Regions from separate parts of the Homo sapiens genome. Here regions 1, 3, 4, 5 and 6 are each linked to region 2. The links are contacts of gene promoters, found by promoter capture Hi-C in blood cells and fetal thymus (Javierre and others, 2016). All regions are on one chromosome and are shown on one strand. The core of a region is centred on a gene start or on the middle of the fragment in contact, and the rest is flanking DNA. Distances in the headings are between cores, read along the strand shown. Region 1 overlaps USP9X (ubiquitin specific peptidase 9 X-linked). Region 2 holds the start of CXorf38 (chromosome X open reading frame 38). Region 3 has its middle 18 kb from the start of LINC02601. Region 4 has its middle 35 kb from the start of LINC02601. Region 5 overlaps DDX3X (DEAD-box helicase 3 X-linked). Region 6 overlaps USP9X (ubiquitin specific peptidase 9 X-linked).

Region 1 (3,380 bases), core at 416-2,915, 570 kb before region 2:
CCCAGCTACTTGGGAGGCTGAGGCAGGAGAATGGCTTAAACCAGGGAGGCGGAGGTTACAGTGAGCCGAGATCACGCCATTGCACTCCAGCCTGGGCAACAACAGCAAAACTCTGTCTCAAAACAAACAAACAAACAAAACTAGTGTAAAGAATGGAGCATTCAAATTTACCATTGATTGAAGACTGCATTCTTGAAGAGACATTGCAACAGCGGATCAGCTGTGACACTACTGAGTATAATTTGCCTAATTCAGCATACTGGTATTTGATTGGAGGACCTGGACCTTCATCTAAAGACACAAGCATAAAAGTAGCAGGTACACTCAATTTCAGAAGCTGTGTCTTCTCTGCCACACCTACAACAAAAAGGAGTGAAGGGGAGAAGAAAGAGAGGGAGAAAAATATGAGGAAAAAATTAAGATGGCAAGGGCTTCATGAATAAAACAAGTAGTTATACAAAATATCTTGTCTATAATTTTTATGATCAGAAAAATTTTGATTTGTAATTTTATCACTTTTACTTAGCATTCAGAGAATTATTTTACTAGAAAAGAAAACTCACCCATTGAGTATAAGTATTAACATTGTTCAACAGTGACTATGACTATGACATTCCAATCACACCGGCTCACTGTAAGGAAGATGAACACTTTCTTTCTTTTTTGAGACAGTCTCGCTCTCTCGCCAGGATGGAGTGCAGTAGCATGATCTCAGCTCACTGCAACCTCTGCCTCCCGGGTTCAAGCAATTCTCCTGCCTGAGCCTCCCCAGTAGCTGGACTACAGGCACGTACCATGCCCAGCTAATTTTTGTATTTTTAGTAGAGACGGGGTTTCACCATGTTGGCCTGGGTGGTCTCGATATCTTGACCTCATGATCTGCCCGCCTTGGCCTTCCACAGTGCTGGGATTATGAGCCACCACGCCCGACCAGAAGACGAACACTTTCTACAGCCTGGAGAGTCTAAAGGGACTAACCAACACTGCAACCCTCATTTGTAAGGAGGATGAAAACAACAAAATAACTACATTAAATGAGAAGCAAAAACTCTTTTATAAATTGCCTGCCTCTCTTCTTTCCTCTACAGCCAAACTTCTTGAAAAAGATACCTACATTTGGTCTCTCTACTTTCTCATTTTCTATTCCTCAACTCATGCCAATTTGGTTTTGGCCCCTCTTCACAGTAATAAGCTAAGGAGCAGTTCTCAAACCATAACCACTTCTTCCTCCCTGGATTCCTGATTTTCTTTCTACCTCTTTTTGTTCTTATTTGCGACTCCTCCTTGTCTCTTAAAAACTGATGTTTCTCCAAGTTCCCATGCCAGGCTATCTTCTCACACTGATTTCCCTGGATGATCTAGCCCACGCTCACGGCTTTAATGTTCTAGATATCTTCATTCAGATGATTCAAAAACATTTCAAGACAAATTACTTACTGTTCTACTGTATATCTCCATTTGGGTGTCACACAGGCTCAAACTCAATCTACCCAAACTGAACTCACCCCTTTCTTCCCATACATACATGTTTCTCCTCCTGTGTTTCCCCTCAGTAAATGGTACCACTATCCACTCACAGTTGTTCATGTTAGAATTTTGGGCATCATTCTTCACATCTCTTCCCTGTCCCCTCCTTCTCTGAATATCCCATCACCAAATCCACTGATTCCACTTCTTATAAAAAGCACCATATATCTATCTGTCCACTTGTATCTCCCTCACTGCCAGTTCTCCAGTACAGGTCACAATGATCTTATGTCTATAGATCATTTTAACACTCTCTGGGATCTTACTCCACTGCAATACATTCCACACTGTGGCCACAGTGCTCTTTCTAGATGGTATTATCTGTTCAAAACCCTACAATGGCTCATCCAATGCCTCAGTCTCTCTCACAAGGCCTATTAGAACTGCATGATCAGAAACTCCTGCCATTCCCATCTTACATCAATTCTAGTCAGACTGGACAATTTTCATCCCATCCAATAAGCCACGCCAAGTTTATCAAGTCTTTGCATCTGCTGTTCACACTCTAGATGGAAAGCTCAACTAACCAATTCCCACGTTACATTCCCCATTAAGTCTTCTGCACTCCCCAAATCCCTTCAGGTACCATGCCCCCCGTGATGCACTTTGCATTTTCCCTATTATAGCTATTAACATATTTTATGGCAACTACATTATTTGCTTCTATATCCCATTAGACAATCTTATTTATTGCCATATTCCCAAAAACATAATAAAAACAGGTCCACAACCTCTTATCTGAAATCCTAAGATTCCAAAAGCTATTTTAATTTTTAATTTTTTTTAAGATGGAGTCTCGCTTTGTCTCCCAGGCTGGAGTGCAGTGGTGTGATCTCAGCTCACTGCAACCTCCGCCTTCTGGGTTCAAGCGATTCTTCTGCCTCAGCCTCCTGAGTAGCTGGGATTACACGCATGTGCCACCACGCCCGGCTAATTTTTGTATATTTAGTAGAGACGGGGTTTCACCATGTTGGTCAGGCTGGTCTTGAACTCCTGACCTTGTGATCTGCCTGCCTCGGCCTCCCAAAGTGCTGGGATTACAGACGTGAGCCACCGCGCCTGGCCCAAAAGCTATTATTATAACAAGTTTTTTTTTTTTTTTTGAGACGGAGTCTTGCCCTGTTGCCCAGGCTGGAGTGCAGTGGCGCGATCTTGGCTCATTGCAACCTCTGCCTCCCAGATTCAAGCCTCAGCCTCCCGAATAGCTGGGACTACAGATGCCCGCCACCACGCCCTGCTAATTTTTGTATTTTTAAGTAGAGATGGGGTTTCGCCATGTTTGCCAGGCTGGTCTTGAACTCCATACCTCAGGTGATCCGCCTGCCTCGGCCTCCCAAAGTGCTGGGATTACAGGCATGAGCCACCTCGCCCAGCCCAACAAAGTTTTTCATTAAGTTGCTGTCAAAATGTGGTTGGTGGGATAACCTAGCCCAAACTGACTAAAGGCTACTTATAGTCTTTATTTCTCCCTTCAGTATAAATATTCATATTTTACTGTAGAAATATTAATGTGTTCAATTGTAAGTTGTTGTCTCAGACCCTGCTATAGAGATGTTGGTATATGCACTGCCTTGCTTTTCTTAAATCCAAACAATTCTCAATCCCAATGCATATCTGATCTTAAGGACTTCATATTAAGGTTTACAGGCCCTACAGTATTTGTTTTCAGCAGGAAAATTTTACAAGTAGGTTACATTATGGAACAATGATGTGTGCTTTGTGAACAGGCAATATCTAAAAGAGTTGAACAGAATAGGATTCTTCTGAATGTCTAAATTTGGCATTTTTAAGTTTGAAATACAGATTCCACTTATGCTTGTCTGTGTAATAAATATTCTCTTTCTCATCTACAA
Region 2 (3,571 bases), core at 283-2,782:
AGTTTTTCCCCCCAAAAGAAGTGCCTATTACATTTTACCTTAATGTTTATTTATCATCCAAGTGTTCTTGATATAAAATCAGTATACAGAAAATTTTAAGAGAACTTACATTCAAGGGACATAGAGGGAAAATGTTAATGTGTATTTCATTGTTTCTTGTGGAATTTTTTTTTCATTCGGTTTGAGAATGGACAGTGTGTCTAAGGATGTGATTTAAATTTACTTAGGATGGATTTAGCATTGAGGTTATTAAGACAAAGTTAGCAGAGGCCAGCCAGCACTGTGCTGCACAACTCCAGGAACTCCATGGTATGCTCACAATTTTCTGCAAGTTGCCTCCACTTCCAAGTGGCCAGTGATTTGTTAAAATACCTTGCCCAAGAATATAACTGATTGATGAAAGGGCATATTTAGGTCAATATAAAATAATAGCAAGTATTTACTGAGAGCTTACTGTGTGCTAGGCATTTTCTTAATATTTCAATGTGTATTTAATCCTCACAACAACCCAATGTGGTAGGTTATTGATATCCTCTTCTTAAAAATGAGTAAATGGAGGCCCAGAGAAATGTAATTTGCCTGAGATCAAATTAAGGTTGCTTAAGATCAAACTGCTAAGAAGGGGCAGTTTGAGTCTGAGCTAGTGCTCCTAAACACTGGACATTTTTGCTGTGAACCACAGTCGGGAAGGTTTAATGTTTAGACTCTTTCCTCAGAGGCTTTTAACTACACACAATTTTGACATGTTTTCCAAGCTCAGAAAGCTCATTAAAAACAACTAAAACTGACCTGACTTGTCACTTGGAGTTGACAATCCCAGTGCCTTCTGACCTTTGTGGCACTTCTTTGGAACTTAAATCAGACTTCCATGTGCAAGGAGCACTAATTATCATATAATCAAGAATACTAGATAATTATCGTCTAACCTTTGCTAGGTGCTTCAGGATGCCCTTATCTGGCTCAGGTGTGCAGCCTTCTAGAATCCAAGTGATGTGTTGCCCTAAACAGGCAAACGCCCCCTTCTGGGTGGTCCAGTGGCGGGGGATTTTGAGTTTTGGGTTAGCTTGGCACACCGCAGGCAGCCAGCGGTCACGTTTCACTAATACCTCAATTTGCTACAGCTGGTCTGTGGGCTTAGGAACCAGTAACTCTAGAATTGTATAATGCAAAGAACATACACGATTCAAGCAATGTGCCCTGAGCACCTTGTACATCTGGACAATAAAAAAAAGTTAAAACAGAAGTGCCCTACATTAGGAGAGGGAGTCGAATCGGATGCTGACAGGGTCTCTGTTTGGGGGACGAAGAGGGCCTAAGGGTTTCAAATAGTTAACTGCTTCCCCAAGCACCAAAGTTGTTAGACGTCAGACGTCAGACGTCACCCAAGTGGGGTGGAGCCGACGTGCCCCGGAAGTCAAGATGCCCCGCCCCGGGATCGGTGGCACCGCGCCGCGCAGGCGCAGGCGTCGCTGCCGCCGGCGCAGGCGCCGCTGCCTCGGGTACTTCCCAGGCTCCGCGCCTGCGCACTGCCGTCCGCCACGCCCCGCAACCTCCTGGTTCCAAGTGGGAGACATGGTGCTGTCGGAGCTAGCGGCGCGCCTCAACTGCGCCGAGTACAAGAACTGGGTGAAGGCGGGCCACTGCCTGTTACTGCTGCGCAGCTGCCTGCAGGGTTTCGTCGGCCGCGAGGTGCTCTCCTTCCACCGCGGCCTACTCGCCGCAGCCCCCGGCCTGGGGCCCCGCGCCGTCTGCCGCGGCGGCTCACGGTGCAGCCCTCGCGCCCGCCAGGTGAGCACCTGGCTCGGGGCCTTGACCACCGCCCCCACCCCACCCCTCCTCATCCCCGTTCCTGTCCCAGACCCAGAGCGCAAGTGTCCTGTTCCCTCCGCGATGCGGGGCCCACCGCGACGTCCCTCCCTCCTGGGCCCCTCCTCACCGCCGCCCCCTGTAGTTTCAGCCTCAGTGTCAGGTGTGCGCTGAATGGAAAAGGGAGATTTTGAGACATCATGTCAACAGAAATGGAGATGTGCACTGGGGAAACTGCCGGCCGGGCCGCTGGCCCGTGGACGCCTGGGAGGTGGCCAAGGTAAGCGCCTGAGGCGGGGACGGAAGGAGGAAGCGGCGGGTCACCCAGCACTCGGGGTGGCTATCTGGTCTTGTGGTCGCCGGGGCCTCATAAACAGATGCAGAGAGAGAGATTGATCAAGGGTCTAGGCGGTTCAGGGGTGGTATGCGGGACCCAACCCAGCTTAGTGAAGTAGAAGCTTTCTTCTACCCGTCTGCTTCCTGAGGGCATTTGAGTTTGTTACCCCTGCTTGGAAAGTTACAGGAAAGAGTTCTACAAGAGATACTGGGGCAAGATGCAGAGCGAGCATCATGAGCACAGGCAGGGAGGGAGGGAGACTCTTGTGTGGCCTGTTTGAGGGTAAGGCTCGCTGAACAGCTCATCAGCTCTTTTTTGGCTATAGGATGCCGTAAGGATGACAGAGTAAGCCAAGGGAAGTTAGGGCTAAAATAGCACCTTAAGTGCCCAGTTAAAGGCACTTTGGGTAGCTGGGAATGGGGTAGGCAGCCGGATCTGTCTTCAGATCTTGGCAATGTCACTTACTAAGTAGATCGAGTAGGAAATTTTTTTGCCCAGTAAGGGACGGAGAGGGACAGCCAGAAGTGGCTTCCTAACACAAATTGACTTTAGCAGTCAGTCTACATGCCAGTAGTTATCAGCAGGCACAGGGTGGGCACTGGAAAGGAGCAGTGCCTGGGAAGCAGATGATCTGAGTCCTGGATCAGCTGCCGTGGTGTGACACTGGGCCAGCTTGTGCTCCCCAATCTCAAAAATGAAAGGACGGCCGGGCGCAGTGGCTCACGCCTGTAATCCCAGCACTTTGGGAGGCCGAGGCGGGCGGATCATGAGGTCAGGAGATCGAGACCACGGTGAAACCCCGTCTCTACTAAAAATACAAAAAAATTAGCCGGGCGCAGTGGCGGGCGCCTGTAGTCCCAGCTACTCGGGAGGCTGAGGCAGGAGAATGGCGTGAACCCGGGAGGCGGAGCTTGCAGTGAGCGGAGATCGCGCCACTGCACTCCCGCCTGGGCGACAGAACGAGACTCCGTCTCAAAAAAAAAAAAAAAAAAAAAAAAAAAAAAAAAAAAAAAAAAAAATGAAAGGAATTGGGGCCGGGCGCGGTGGCTCATGCCTGTAATCCCAGCACTTTGGGAGGCCAAGGTGGGAGGATGGCTTGAGCTCAGGAGTTCAAGACCACCCTGGATAACATGGCAAAACCCCGTCTCTACAAAAAAATACAAAAATTAGCTGGGTGTGGTGGTGCATGCCTGTAGTCCCAGCTACTCAGGAGGCTGAGGTGAGAGGATCACTGGAGCCTGGGAAGTCGAGGCTGCAGTGAGCCGTGATCACACCACTGCATTCCAGCCTGGGTGACAGAGCAAGACCCTGTCTTAAAAAATTGAACTGTATCAGGGGTCCCCAGACTTTTGGGTATCACGAGCCGGTAAACCCACCACACCTACACCATCTTCCCCATTTTTTTCCACTGCAGCCATAGAGTTGCTG
Region 3 (3,614 bases), core at 229-2,728, 610 kb before region 2:
GCAGGGTAGCTCTTTGAATCAAGAGGTGCAGGCCTTGAGCCTGGGCTGGCCTTGGGACTTGCTTTGACCGGTTGAATACTTCACATTGTGCCTGCTCCAGGCCTCAATGGCAAGAGACCTTGAGCATTTCTGCGATTTCTGTTCACTCTCCTGGAACCCCGCCGCCTCCCTATGAACAAACGTGGGCTAGCCTGCTGGGGATGCAGGACCAGGCAGACGAACGACGATCCGACCAGCTGAGGTCACTCCAGACCAGCCCATCCGCAGCCAGTCTGGCAGATGCAGGTGGGAGCCATGTGTATCAGCTGAGCTCAGCCCAGATTGCCAGCCGGCAGCAGCAAAAGCTAAATCAACAGTTGGTGTTTTGGCTTCATGCCTATAATCCCAGCACTTTGAGAGGCGGAGGCAGAAGGATCGCTTGAGCCCAGGAGTTCAAGACCAGCCTGGGTAACACAGTAAGACCCCATCTCTACAAAAAATCAAAAAATTAGCTGGCCATGTCTGTGGTCCTAGCTACTTGGAAGACCGAGGTGGGGGGACCGCTTGAGCCCAGGAGTTCAAGACCAACCTGGGCAACATAGGGAGACCCTGTCTCTACAAAAAAATTAAAAAATTAGCTGGGCGCGGTGGTGTGTGCCTGTAGTCCCAGCTACTCAGGAGGCTGAGGTGGGAGGATCGATTCAGCCCAGGAGGTCAAGGCTTCAGGGAGCTGTGATCGTGCCACTGCACTCCAGCCTGGGTGACAGAGCAAGACCCTGTCTCAACAACAACAACAACAAAATGTTGGTGTTTTAAGGCCCTAAGCTTTGTGGGGGTCGGTTTTGCAGCAAAAGCTACCCGACTCAGAGAGGGATGACGCAGGTGATAAGGATTTTGCTGGCGAAGAGCCTAACCCTCTTGAATTCTAGTTTCTCAATTGGAGAGCTCGAAGGAGACTGGTTGCTAATGGTTTGAGGGAAATTTTATTTTTTCGAGACGGTGTCTCGCTCTGTCACCCAGGCTGGAATGCAGTGACTCGATCTCCGCTCACTGCAACCTCTGCCTCCCGGGTTCAAGCAATTCTCCTGCCTCGGCCTCCCGAGTAGCTGGGATTACAGGCGTCCACCACCACGCCCGGCTAATTTTTTGTATTTTTAGTAGAGACGGGGTTCAAACTCCTGATCTCAAGTGTTCCGCCCACCTCGGCCTCCCAATCTGGCGGTGGCTCATGATTACCGGCGTGGGCCACCGCGTCCAGCCTGGGGGAAACTTTTAAAGATGGCAGTTACCAACAATGACACTGAAGAAGCTAGGACTTCTTGGAGGTCAAGGTTCCAGCCTTCCTGGTTCTTGGACATTAGAATCTAGTATGAAGGAGATGCGGTGAGTCAGAGTGTACAGAGCTGCGGACTTCCAGTCTGATGGTGGTGGGGATGGGGAACGGGGGCCAAGCTGGCCTTCCCAGCCTCGGACCTCCCAGATCCTGTGTGCCGCAGAAGCCAGCCTGCAGCAATGCCCCCCACCAGGCTGGGGCGCCCACTGTCCCCTGCCTTGTCATGCGTGCCAAGATGAATGCTAAATGTGGAGATTCTTCCTCAGTGCTGGATTTCGCGCCTTCTGGCATTCAATACTAGCCTAGTTTTTAATAAAGAAGAAACAACACTATTTTGGTGCTGTAAACCTATTTTTCACCATCTGGCGTACCCGTATGCCTCTTATATTTCTTCTTCTAGGTCAGCAAAAATCCCATCATGGGACCAGAGCCTCCCTACCAAGGAGGATGTTATCATAGATTTCAGGGGACGAGGTACCCCTCTTCAGGTTGCATCCACTTAACTTTGAGTAACAGACTTCTAAAAAACCTGTTTCTATAAATGTCAGTAAAACAAAATGAACGTTTAGCTCATGGAAATTAACATAAAAATGAAAGTTTGATTTTTTTTTCGCATAACAGATGATGACAATCTTAAAATACCCGACAGACGAAAGAGGAAGGAAAACCACCCCTTCTGTCTGAGAGAATTATGCGATAATGGCCCAAAGCGGTCCTCTGCAATTTTTTGGGGGGTGACACTAAAGGAACAGAAGGTACTGGGGGAACCAATGGGAAAAATAGTTTAATTAGTAAAGTTAACTTAATTAGCAAAAATAATTCTCTTTGGAGCAAGCTTTGAATAAATCTGTGATAATTTGGTGATTCTATGAATTTTCTGGAATATGTGTACATGTGTGCATTGGGGTGCATGCACATGTGCGATCATGCATGTGCACGTGTGTGCATGCATGCATGGGGGTGGACCCAGGTTTTGTGGTCCCTAAAGATTATACAATTTTGGGAAGCCCTTTAAAAAAAAGAACACAGGCCAGGCACAGTGGTTCACGCCTGTAATCTCAGCACTTTGGGAGGCCGAGGCAGGAGGATTGCTTGAGCCCAGGAGTTCAAGACCAGCCTGGGCAACATAGGAAGATTTCGTCTTTATTTAAAAGAAAAAAAAAATTTTAATAAAAATGTTTTAAAAACCACAAAATGTGAATGCAAAATTAGGTAGGAAAGGGATGCCTATTTAGAATTAGAAAGAAAACGCAATTCACAATGTTTTCAAAGCTGAGAAATACCTCAAATTTCATATAATTCAGAAAACTAACAAAGTTTTGTTAACTGCTTAACAAACCTCAATGGCCCTTTTTCCCCCTGTAATTTTTGACTGCATACTCTTTGATCACCTTTTCGTGTGGCCGCAACTTTATAATATTTTCTAGGGAGAGGATAGAAAGATAATTCAGTTTTTGGCTGGGCGTGGTGGCTCACGCCTGTAATCCCAGCACTTTGGGAGGCCGAGGCAGGTGGATCACCTGAGGTCAGGAGTTTGAGACCAGCCTAGCCAACATGGTGAAACCCCATCTCTACTAATAATACGAAAATTAGCCGGGCATAGGAGGTGGCGCATATCTGTAGTCCCAGCTACTCGGGAGGCTGAGGCAGGAGAATCGCTTGAATCCAGGAGGCGGAGGTTGCAGTGAGCTGAGACAGTGCCACTGCCCTCCAGCCTGGGTGACGGAGCCAGACTCCGTCTCAAAAAAAAAAAATAAATAAATAAATAAAGATAGTTAGATCGTTCAGTTTTTGTTCTAACATGGTTGATAGAAATTTGGTTTTCATTACTGATAGTTTAGAAAAATGTCAGCTTTACATTTTCATAATTAATAATTCTGTGCACATTTTTAGGATTGTTGTCAAATTTGGGAAAACCTCTATCAAGTTTCTTTCATATAAAAGCGGTAAGTTTTCAGGGTATATCAAGGTTTCATGTTCAGGAACTAACCTTAAATACTCTAAATTGGCAATACTCATGGACCAATTTGACCTCCAATTCTTGCTGTAGAGGTCTAGTCTATTATGAGATTTATGTTATCTTTATCAATGACAGTATTTTAGTCAAATCTGCACAAAATGTAAATGTTTTCCTGCTGTGTTCATGTATTTCACTTATTTTATTAAGTAGATTATTTAATAATCTAAGAGCCCATATATTACCTCTATTCAAAATTTATCTCTTCCTCTTTTGGTATGATCTGAAAAAATATTTTGGTACAATTTACTTCTCAGATGTCAGAATAGTTTCTATAGGTTATAT
Region 4 (3,397 bases), core at 539-3,038, 590 kb before region 2:
TTCCTGAGTGATTATGACAGCACAATTAAGTTTTTTTTTTTTTTTTTTTGAGACGGAGTCTCTGTCACCCAGGCTGGAGTGCAGTGGCATGATCTTAGCTCACTGCAGCCTCTGCCTTCCGGGTTCAAGTGATTCTCCTGCCTCGGCCTCTTAAGTAGCTGGGATTACAAGTGCATGCCACCACGCCTGGCTAATTTTTGTATTTTTAGTAGAGACAGAGTTTTACCATGTTGGCCAGGCTGGTCTCGAACTCTTGACCTCAGGTGACCCGCCCACCTTGGCCTTCCAAAGTACTGAGATTCCAGGCCTGAGCCACCACACCCGGCCTAAAATTAACTTCTGATGAAGAGAAAGTTTATTGTAACAAAGACAAGAGTTTTTGAAATGCAGATGAGAAAAATTCCTGTCTTGGAGACTTGACAAGTGGCTACAAGTAGGCACAGTCTAAATTCAGCCCATTTGCGAAAGTTATAAAGGAGATGCATTTTTAATCAAAGTCACCACGGTAGGGTTTCATATGAATAAACAAGCTTTTATTTTCTAATGGAGGAAAACATTTGGAGTGGAGACCAGACTTGAGAAGAACCGTACACAGACTGCTTTCTTAGAACTAGGCATTGCCCCTCTGGGCCAGAACACAGAGCTCACACGCCCACTTCTTGTTTGGTGCTGTACCGAAGTCACCACTGGGGCCTGCGACATCCACATTTTTTTTTTTTTTTTTTTTGAGATGGAGTTTCGCTCTTGTTGCCCAGGCTGGAGAGCGAGGGCGCGATCTCAGCTCACTGCAACCTCCGCCTCCCAGGTTCAAGCAATTCTCCTGCCTCAGCCTGCCAAGTAGCTGGGATTACAGGAATGCGCCACCATGCCCGGCTAATTTTTTGTATTTTTAGTAGACACGGGGTTTCTCCATGTTGGTCAGGCTGGTCTCGAACTCCCGACCTCAGGTGATCCACCCGCCTCAGCCTCCCAAAGTGCTGGGATTACAGGCGTGAGCCACCGCGCCCGGCTGACATCCACATTTTAAAGCTGCTAAAGGATTTGGATGGATTGGTGCTGAGTCAGGGTACAACCTGCTATCACTTGAAAATATGGGCTGCTATTTTATTTTCTTCCTGGGACCCGTGTGTTTTGTACAGCACATTAGCACATTTTCTTTTCATTCAAAGTAGTGGTTATAACACTTGATCTCAGCCACTGGAAATGTGTTAGTATAAATCTTCAATGTACTTATTTTCAAATGAGGTTCAAATCAGAGCTACAAAAAAATAAAAGGCGTATTTCAGTTTTCAAAGTTGTAATCCCACATCGAATTTGTAACAAAAGCTGCTCCTCAACAGGAGTTCACGCTAAACGCATTGCAAAGAACTACTGTGGGGTGAAAAAAACTACTGCAATTGATGTACAGCATAATTTAAAATATGGGATATTATTTTAGGCAACTGTATTTTCTTTTAATCTAGACACAAAATGTAACACTGTATTTCAGCTACGGTACATCTGTAAACAAATTCGGAATAAAAAAACAAACAAACCTTACTTGACTTTTCCCCCATTCACTAGTCAAATTTAGAAGGCCAAGTTTTTGTTTTGTTTTGTTTTGTTTTGTTTTTGAGATGGAGTTTTGCTCTTGTTGCCCAGGCTGGAGTGCAATGGCGTGATCTTGGCTCATTGCAACTTCCACCTCCCGGGTTCAAGCGATTCTCCTGCCTCAGCCTCCCAAGTAGCTGGGATTACAGGTGCCTGCCACCATGCCCGGCTAATTTTTGTATTTTTTAGTAGAGATGGGGTTTCACCATGTTGGCCAGGCTGGTTACAATCTCCTGACTTCCAGTGATCCGCCTGCCTCGGCCTCCCAAAGTGTTGGAATCACAGGCGTGAGCCACTGCGCCAGGCCAGAAGGCCACGTTTTAACAACTGTTTTCAAACCAACCTAATGCCAAACTTCAGAATTTAGTAGGAGATTCAGGTATGACGTTATATATGCTTTCTTTTAGTTCTAGCCTTAAATCTTAAGTTAATTCTTGACTTTAAATTTGTACAGTTAAACCAGCTTCCCTAAAAGTAATTCCTCTTTTTTGTTTACAGCTCTAAGCTGCTTTTGTGATGAGTATTGCCCATTGCACTTCAGCATAGCGGAACAGCAGTTAAAAGCCTAAATGTGGATTGCATATTGATAAATTATTACTCCTCAAAAGCACCTGATAATATAAGTGTCACTCTTGGTTACTTTATCATCCTTTTCTAGAGACAAAAACACAGAATGAGAGGGACATCCTGTAGCCATTTCTTTTTTTTTCTTTTTTTCTTTTTTTGAGACAGAGTTTCGCTCTCATTGCCCAGGCTGGAGTGCAATGGCTCACTGCAACCTCCGCCTCCCGGGTTCAAGCGATTCTCCTGCTTCAGCCTCCCGAGTAGCTGGGATTGCAGGCATGCACCACCACACCCGGCTAATTTTGTATTTTTAGTAGAGATGGGGTTTCTCCATGTTAGTCAGGCTGGTCTCGAACTCCTGACCTCAGGTAATCCGCCCGCCTCGGCCTCCCAAAGTGCTGGGATTACAGGCGTGAGCCACCGTGCCCGGCCAATGTGAGATGCCCCTCCCCTTGAACATGGGTGGGGTTTATGGACTTTCTTCCTTTTTTTTTTTTTCTTTTGAGATGGAACTTTGCTCTTGTTGCCCAGGCTGAAGTGCAACGGCGCCATCTCGGCCCACTGCAACCTCCGCCTCCCCGGTTCAAGCAATTCTCCTGCCTCAGCCTCCAGAGTAACTGGGATTAGAGGTGCCCGCCACCATGCCCGGCTAATTATTTTTGTATTTTTAGTAGAGACCCGGTTTCACCATGTTGATCAGGCTGGTCTAGAACTCCTGATCTCAGGTGATCCACCCGCCTCGGCCTCCCAAAGTGTTGGGATTATAGACGTGAGCCACCGCGCCAGGCCTGCTAATATCAGTGTCTAACGCTGTGCTGATAAGTGCTAAACAACAACCCAACATCCAGTTTATCTAGCACTTAACGTTACTAAGTTATTAAACCAAGCTTCAGTGGCCATTAGTAAGGCAAACCTGCTACCATTTTAGTGCAAGTCTGAATTTTTGTTTTTTGTTTTTCTGTTAGATAAAAATTCTGATCTTGGATTGGGTGCAGTGGCTCACGCCTCTAATCGCAGCACTTTGAGAGGATAAGGTGGGCAGATCACCTGAGGTCAGGAGTTCGAGACCAGCCTGGCCAACATGGCGAAACCCTGTCTCTACTAAAAATACAAAAATTAGCCGGGCATGGTGGCACACGCCTGTAATCCCAGCTACTCGGGAGGCTGAGGCAGGAGAATCTCTTGAACCCAGGATGTGGAGGTTGCAGTGCGCTGAGATCACGCCACTGCACTCCAGCCTGGG
Region 5 (2,500 bases), core at 1-2,500, 690 kb before region 2:
AAGGCAAAACCCCGTCTCTACTAAATATACAAAAATTAGCCGGGCATGGTGGCACATGCCTGTGATCCCAGCTACTTGGGAGGCTGAGGCAGGAGAATCACTTGAACCCAGGAGGCGGAGGTTGCAGTGAGCCCGCGCTACTGCACTCCAGCCTCCGCAGCAGAGCAAGGCTCCGTCTCAAAAAAAAAAAAAAAAAAAAAAAGCCAAAGTGATCTTCTGGTAGAAATAATACAGATTTTATATCCATGCATTGCCAGGACAGTGAAGGTAATACAGACTACATATGGAGATGGAGGAACAGCAGCAAACCATGTGCTCCCCTGTGGACTCTCCACTCTTCCTATCTGCCTTCTTTATACAGTATCTTCCCTCCTAATCTTTGGTTTTCCTGACTTTCCCTTTTCCTCCAAATTTTGGATGGTCTATTTTACAGAATATAAAGCACCCGAACAGCTGTCTCATAATATGAAACATATACTAGCTGTCATCTATCACTACGTTACAATTACAATGGGAAAAGACACCAGATATTGTAATACATTTTGGACAAAACCTTTCAAAAGCAGCAAGGCAAGGAGATGAAACCAGAGAATCACTTCCAACGCTGTAACTTGTTAACTGTTCTACAATAAGCCCATCTTCATTTCTAGCAACTTTGCCAAGACAGAAATAACCAGGTTGTTATCATTATACAGCTTGGTTTACACAGTAGGGCACCCACCTCTTCCAAACTAAAACCATGCTGTGAATGATTACAAACAGATTCAGCACAACACTAGTGAAACTGTACAAAACCATGCCCTTGGCGTCAGAACAGTTTGACATAGGAATGCCGAATTTCCCACTGCGTAACATTAGATGAGTTCTTCCAAAATTATTAAGCTCTAGTATTTGAACCAAGGCTGACAGAAGCATAGAAAAACAACACCATGTTTAGACCTCCCCCAAATGCCTGGTTTTCCTTAGGCTTTACTAACTTCTAAAGGAGGCAAAAAATAGACCTACGAAGTTACTTGTGAGGACCTACCTTTAGTAGCTTCTCGGTTCCTTAAATGAGGAGGAATATAGCGCCCTTCTAAAAAAATATATATATATATAAAATTAATTAAATGCCAAAAAACCTTCCCATTTAAATTTCTGTTACTAAAAAATGGTTCTGGGAAATTAAAATCTCCAGCCTTCCAATCTGATTACTTACCTGGACACTGAGAGGGGGGAAAAATAAGAATCTAATTTTAAATGGGTTACTGCTTCATAAGGAGAACTCTGAAAGGAGTTTGATAAAAAAAAGCTGATTTGGAACCTAATAGTTGAAATCCACAAATTGAGCACATTTAGCCACCAGTGGTCATTTAATGTGATTTTTTTAAAGGCCTGCTAGATTTAAGAGAACTGTCATCAAAACTGTCAACAAAAGCATTAAGTATTACTGTAACAATTTAAGATTACTCATGTAACATATCTCACAATCTTTTGTTTCTATGCCAGTAAGTTGCAAAACATACAATAAATAAACAAGGAAAAGCTGCAAAGGGGAGTTAATTTCAAGGAATTGCAGGTTTTAATTTGGGGCTTGCTGAGTTTAAGGAAAGTTGACAGTTGCTCTGTATGCGAGCAGGAGTACAGCCTAGAATATGGATAAGCAAAAAAAACAACATAAAGCCAAATAAATTTGCTTTATAACTAGTAAACGTGTCATTTTTCTTTTTCACTTCTAGACTGAATTAAATATTTTTAAAAATCTCTACTAGGACAATCAGTTCCTAAAAGATTCTTAGCATGACAAATAAGGTGAAAGTTAAAGCAAACACCAAGTTTTGTTCCCAGTGAAGCTGTTCTTGCCTAAAAATGAGGACACATCATAGCCCATACTCACTTTTGTTTTAATAAGTAGGAAGAGATCTGAGCTAAAAATAAGGGTCTATTGCCCTTATAATAAACCACCAAGATCCCCTATCTTAACACTAACCTCTAACAAGTCTCTAAATAACCCCCCTTAGAAGAAAAAAAGCAACTTTTCTAATGCCTTTTTAAAAGAAATGACACATTTGAAAACCTAACCTAACCACCAATCCAAAATTCAGTATAGTCTTCTGTTCTTCAGGAGAAAGGAGTAGCTATAACCAATGAAATGCATATTCCCTTAATTCAATTTAATAAATATAGTCAGTTAACAGGGACACATTCCCATCACCTCTAAACTGGGCTCAGGATTTATAATGGACAAAAACTCTTCTAGAGATAATTTGATATAATAAGGTTCTTTCCAATGATTAGCTGCTTTTACTCAAGAGAGCCAGCTAGTCATTGATGTTTTATTATCAGAAAGGCACAGCTATTCGGGAGGCTGAGGCAGGAGAATCGCTTGAACCCGGAGGCAGAGACTGCGGTGAGCCGAGATCACACCATTGCACTCCAACCTGGGCAACAAGAGCAAAGCTCCATCTCAACCAAAAAAAAAAAAAAAAGGCAACGATGCTTTAGATTGATCACTAAGTAC
Region 6 (3,546 bases), core at 505-3,004, 530 kb before region 2:
GACAGCTTTAAAAATTATGTCAACTAAATATGGTGTACTGCACTATATTTATCAGTACTTCATCCCCAAACCCCACTAAAATGAGAATGAATGAATATAAAAATACATAAACTCAAAAGAACATAAAAACAGAAGGGGAAGCAACACATTAAACAGCTGTCAACAAATTACTGACGGTGTAGTGAAGATGGGGATAGATAGTTGGTTTAGCTGAAGTTGTGAAGTTGGTTTAGTTGTTGTGAAGGCAAGGAGAAGAGGGTGCCTATAAATTAATGCCCCACTAAATCTGAGAAAAGCCAAGGGTATGAAAACAACAAACACTTGGGAAGGCACAAATGATTCGAAGGCCTAAAGACAGAGGCTGAAGACTGATTAAGAAGCCTTTCCAACTCCCTCAGGTTTCAGATTTCTCATTGCTGTAGAGATACAAATACGGAATGGAAGATGACTAGGAAGCTGGACTGGTACAAGCGTGAACCTGTGTTAGTTAACTGCAGGATACAAAAATCAATATACAAAACTAAGTAGTGTTTCCATTTGCCAATAGCAAACTATCTGAAAGAGAAATCAAGAAAGTTATCTCACAATAGCTACAAAAATATAAGATGCCTAGGAATAAATTTAAGCAAGGAGGAGAAAGATCACTACAAAAAAAACTGATGAAAGAACGAACACAGGACACAAATAAATGGAAAAATATTCTATGTTCATGGGTTGGAAGAACAAATATTGTTAAAATGTCCATATTACCCAAAGCAATCTACAGATTGATGCAATCTCTATTAAAATACCAATTATATTCTTCACAGAAATAGAAAAAACATCCTTTGAGGTGAATCTGCAAGGTAAAACAAAAAAATACAAAAAACACTCCTAAAATTCATATGGAACTACAAAAGACTCCAAATAGCCGAATCAATCTTGAGTAAGAAGAACAAAGCTGAAGGCATCAGCTACTTGACTTCAAAATTTACTATAGAGCAATAGTAACCAAAACAGCATGGTATTGACACAAAAATAGACACAGATCAATTGAACAGAATAGAGAACCCAGAAATAAATCCACATAATCAGAAACAACTGATTTTCAACAAAGGTGCCAAGAACACACATTGGGGGAAAAGGCAATCTCTTGAATAAAAATGGTGTTGCAAAAACAGAATATACATATGCAGAAAAATGAAACTAAACCCCTATTATTCATCATATGTAAAAATAAACTCAAGATGGGTTAAAAACTTAAATGTAAGACCAGAAACTATAAAACTACTAGAAGAAAACACAAGGGAAATGTTTCATGTCATTAGTGTGGGCAAGGACTTTTTGGCTAAGACTTCAAAAGCACAGGCAACAAACACAAAAACAGACAAACGAAATTACATTAAACTAAAAAGCTTCTACCCAACAAAGGAAATAAGACCACAAAAAGACAAATCTACAGAATTGGAGAAAATATTTGCAAACTATGCATCTGACAAGGGGTTAATATCCAGAATATATAAGGAACTCAACAGCAAAAAATCCGATTTTTAAAATGGGCAAAAGACTTGAATAGATATTTCTCAAAAGAAGACATCCAAATGGCCAACATGTACATGAAAGCACACTCAACATAACTAATCATTAAGGAAATGCAAATCCAAACCACAATGAGGTATCACCTTACCACAATTAGAATGAAATAAGGATGACTTGGCAGGGGCACTGTGGTTCACACCTGTAATCCTAGCACTTTGGTAGGCCGAGGTGGGTGGATCACCTGAGGTCAAGCGTTCGAGACCAGCCTGGCCAACATGGTGAAACCTCGTCTCTACTAAAAATATAATAATTAGCCGGGCATGAGGGCAGGTGCCTGTAATCACAGCTATTCGGGAGGCTGAGGCAGGAGAATCACCTGAACCCAGGAGGCAGAGGGTGCAGTGAGCCGAAATCACGCCACTGCACTACTCCAGCATGGGCAACAGAGCAAAATCTCCGTCTCAAAAAAAAAAAAAAAAAAAAAAAAAAAAAAGATTTAAACCTCGGATTTTGATTTCTAAATACCCTTCCTTCTAAAAACTCTGGAATGGCAGATTCCAGAGCTGGGGCAGAGGAAATACTATAGATAAGCTTGAAACATCTTCTCATACCAGAAAATAATAAAGTACAATAAAGTACCTTAAAAAAATTGAGGTTGTATGTCTGGGTCTAACCTATAGGGGCTTCCACTGACCATATCTAGGACAATTGAGCATCAAAATAAATAACCATTACAATGGTTATAACCCAATGAATAAAATAAACCCATAAGAGTGATCATATATGACAAATATAAAGGCGAGAAAACAAAGCACTACCTTATAGAATGTCAACTAATAAATGTAGAAAGGATGACAAAATTAAAACAAAATTACCATTTTGCAACCATCATAGTAAAAACATTTAGGCAACAATCACAATAGATGATAAAACAAATGTTTGATGAGGAAAAAGATAGTTACGAAGTCTCAAAGCATCTCTCTACACAAAGCATCTCTCTCCTTTAGAGGAGAAACCTGGCAGCTATCAACTAAGTGATCTGGGTTAATGTCACCAAAGACACAGTGACATGTGTCTCTCAATGTGATGCTCTTAGACACATCAACATACAAGTAGTACTCTGTCAAATGTACAACCTCCATATAATCATCAGAACAGATAAGACCCAATGAGAGATATTCAGCGCAACTGACATGTGCCATTCAAAAACAAAGTCACAAAAGACAAAGACTGAGGAACTATTCCAGATTAAAGACAACTGAAAGAGATACCGAATAATTATGCAATGTATGAACCTGGATTTAGATCCTCAACCAGAAAACATTGTTATAAAGTCCAATACTGAGGAAAGTGTCAAAATATGAAAATGGTCTGCAGATTAGATGATATTACTGTATATGCTAAATTTTTTTTATTTTGAATAATACTATGTTAATGTAAGTGAGAACATTCTTGTTTTTAGAAGACATATACTAAGCTATTTAGGAAGAAAAAGATGATTGTCTACAACTTGTTCTCCAAATGTTAGGAAACTTTTGCCATCACTACGGCAAACTGTTAATTACTGAATTTGGGAGCCAACTGTATTCTTTGTAAACAGTTTGAAATTATTTTAATATAAAAAGCTAGTTAAAAAACTCAAGGACAGTAAAAGATGATGCTGGAAAAAGAAGAAAACATAATATCCATCAGTAATAGCCTAGAGAGAAATAATTACAGTCTGTTATGCTATAGCACGTTTCTATAACCCCAATTAGCTCACAATCAATTGGCAAATATAATGATGTCAGTATAATGCAGAAGGTGAGTTTGTTCATGTGTGATTTCTTCCAGGCAACAGTAGCCAGAACAACAGAACTGTTAATCTTCAACAAAAAAATTAAAATGAGCAAAGCAAAAAGCCCCCTCAGCTGGGTAGATGTGTAAGCAGAAGCCTGTTTCTTTTTAAAGGAAAATTTAAAGTGAATACTTGCATCAAGGGCTCATCTTGTGAGATACAATCCTAAACTAGACTTTCATGGACCTTGG

What was found. Contacts are between HindIII fragments. The CHiCAGO score rates a contact against its expected background, and 5 or more counts as called.
Region 1: a fragment that was not itself captured here is called in contact with the fragment with the promoter of CXorf38 in region 2 in 4 of 17 cell types (monocytes, total CD4 T cells, naive CD4 T cells and 1 more); the score reaches 7.4 in monocytes.
Region 3: a contact is called between a fragment that was not itself captured here and the fragment with the promoter of CXorf38 in region 2, in 7 of 17 cell types (endothelial precursors, megakaryocytes, monocytes and 4 more). The highest score is 6.7, in endothelial precursors.
Region 4: a fragment that was not itself captured here is called in contact with the fragment with the promoter of CXorf38 in region 2 in 3 of 17 cell types (monocytes, neutrophils and megakaryocytes); the score reaches 10.7 in monocytes.
Region 5: a contact is called between a fragment that was not itself captured here and the fragment with the promoter of CXorf38 in region 2, in 10 of 17 cell types (fetal thymus, total CD8 T cells, total CD4 T cells and 7 more). The highest score is 11.6, in fetal thymus.
Region 6: a contact is called between a fragment that was not itself captured here and the fragment with the promoter of CXorf38 in region 2, in 13 of 17 cell types (naive B cells, total CD8 T cells, naive CD4 T cells and 10 more). The highest score is 10.7, in naive B cells.

The regions. Positions count from the first base shown.
Region 1 is chrX:41,220,194-41,223,573 of GRCh38, reverse strand. USP9X (ubiquitin specific peptidase 9 X-linked) reads right to left here. Exons shown (of 45, transcript NM_001039591.3): 39 at 172-357. Among named protein-coding and RNA genes, the nearest start is that of LINC02601, 54 kb to the left of the region's middle. The HindIII fragment of the contact is 5,585 bases long and covers 1-3,380 here.
Region 2 is chrX:40,645,522-40,649,092 of GRCh38, reverse strand. CXorf38 (chromosome X open reading frame 38) reads left to right here and starts at 1,532. Exons shown (of 7, transcript NM_144970.3): 1 at 1,532-1,788; 2 at 1,952-2,086. The coding sequence starts at 1,573. It overlaps MED14 (mediator complex subunit 14), which reads left to right. Exons shown (of 31, transcript NM_004229.4): 31 at 1-788. RefSeq lists silencers at 1,316-1,496, 1,332-1,631, 1,752-1,901 and an enhancer at 2,152-2,351. The HindIII fragment of the contact is 2,915 bases long and covers 1-2,266 here.
Region 3 is chrX:41,256,347-41,259,960 of GRCh38, reverse strand. No RefSeq gene overlaps it. Among named protein-coding and RNA genes, the nearest start is that of LINC02601, 18 kb to the left of the region's middle. The HindIII fragment of the contact is 1,343 bases long and covers 807-2,149 here.
Region 4 is chrX:41,239,410-41,242,806 of GRCh38, reverse strand. No RefSeq gene overlaps it. Among named protein-coding and RNA genes, the nearest start is that of LINC02601, 35 kb to the left of the region's middle. The HindIII fragment of the contact is 2,511 bases long and covers 533-3,043 here.
Region 5 is chrX:41,337,611-41,340,110 of GRCh38, reverse strand. DDX3X (DEAD-box helicase 3 X-linked) reads right to left here. Exons shown (of 17, transcript NM_001356.5): 3 at 1,028-1,075. Among named protein-coding and RNA genes, the nearest start is that of DDX3X, 4.7 kb to the right of the region's middle. The HindIII fragment of the contact is 3,587 bases long and covers 1-2,500 here.
Region 6 is chrX:41,176,550-41,180,095 of GRCh38, reverse strand. The region is part of intron 21 of USP9X (ubiquitin specific peptidase 9 X-linked); the gene reads right to left. Among named protein-coding and RNA genes, the nearest start is that of USP9X, 93 kb to the right of the region's middle. The HindIII fragment of the contact is 715 bases long and covers 1,397-2,111 here.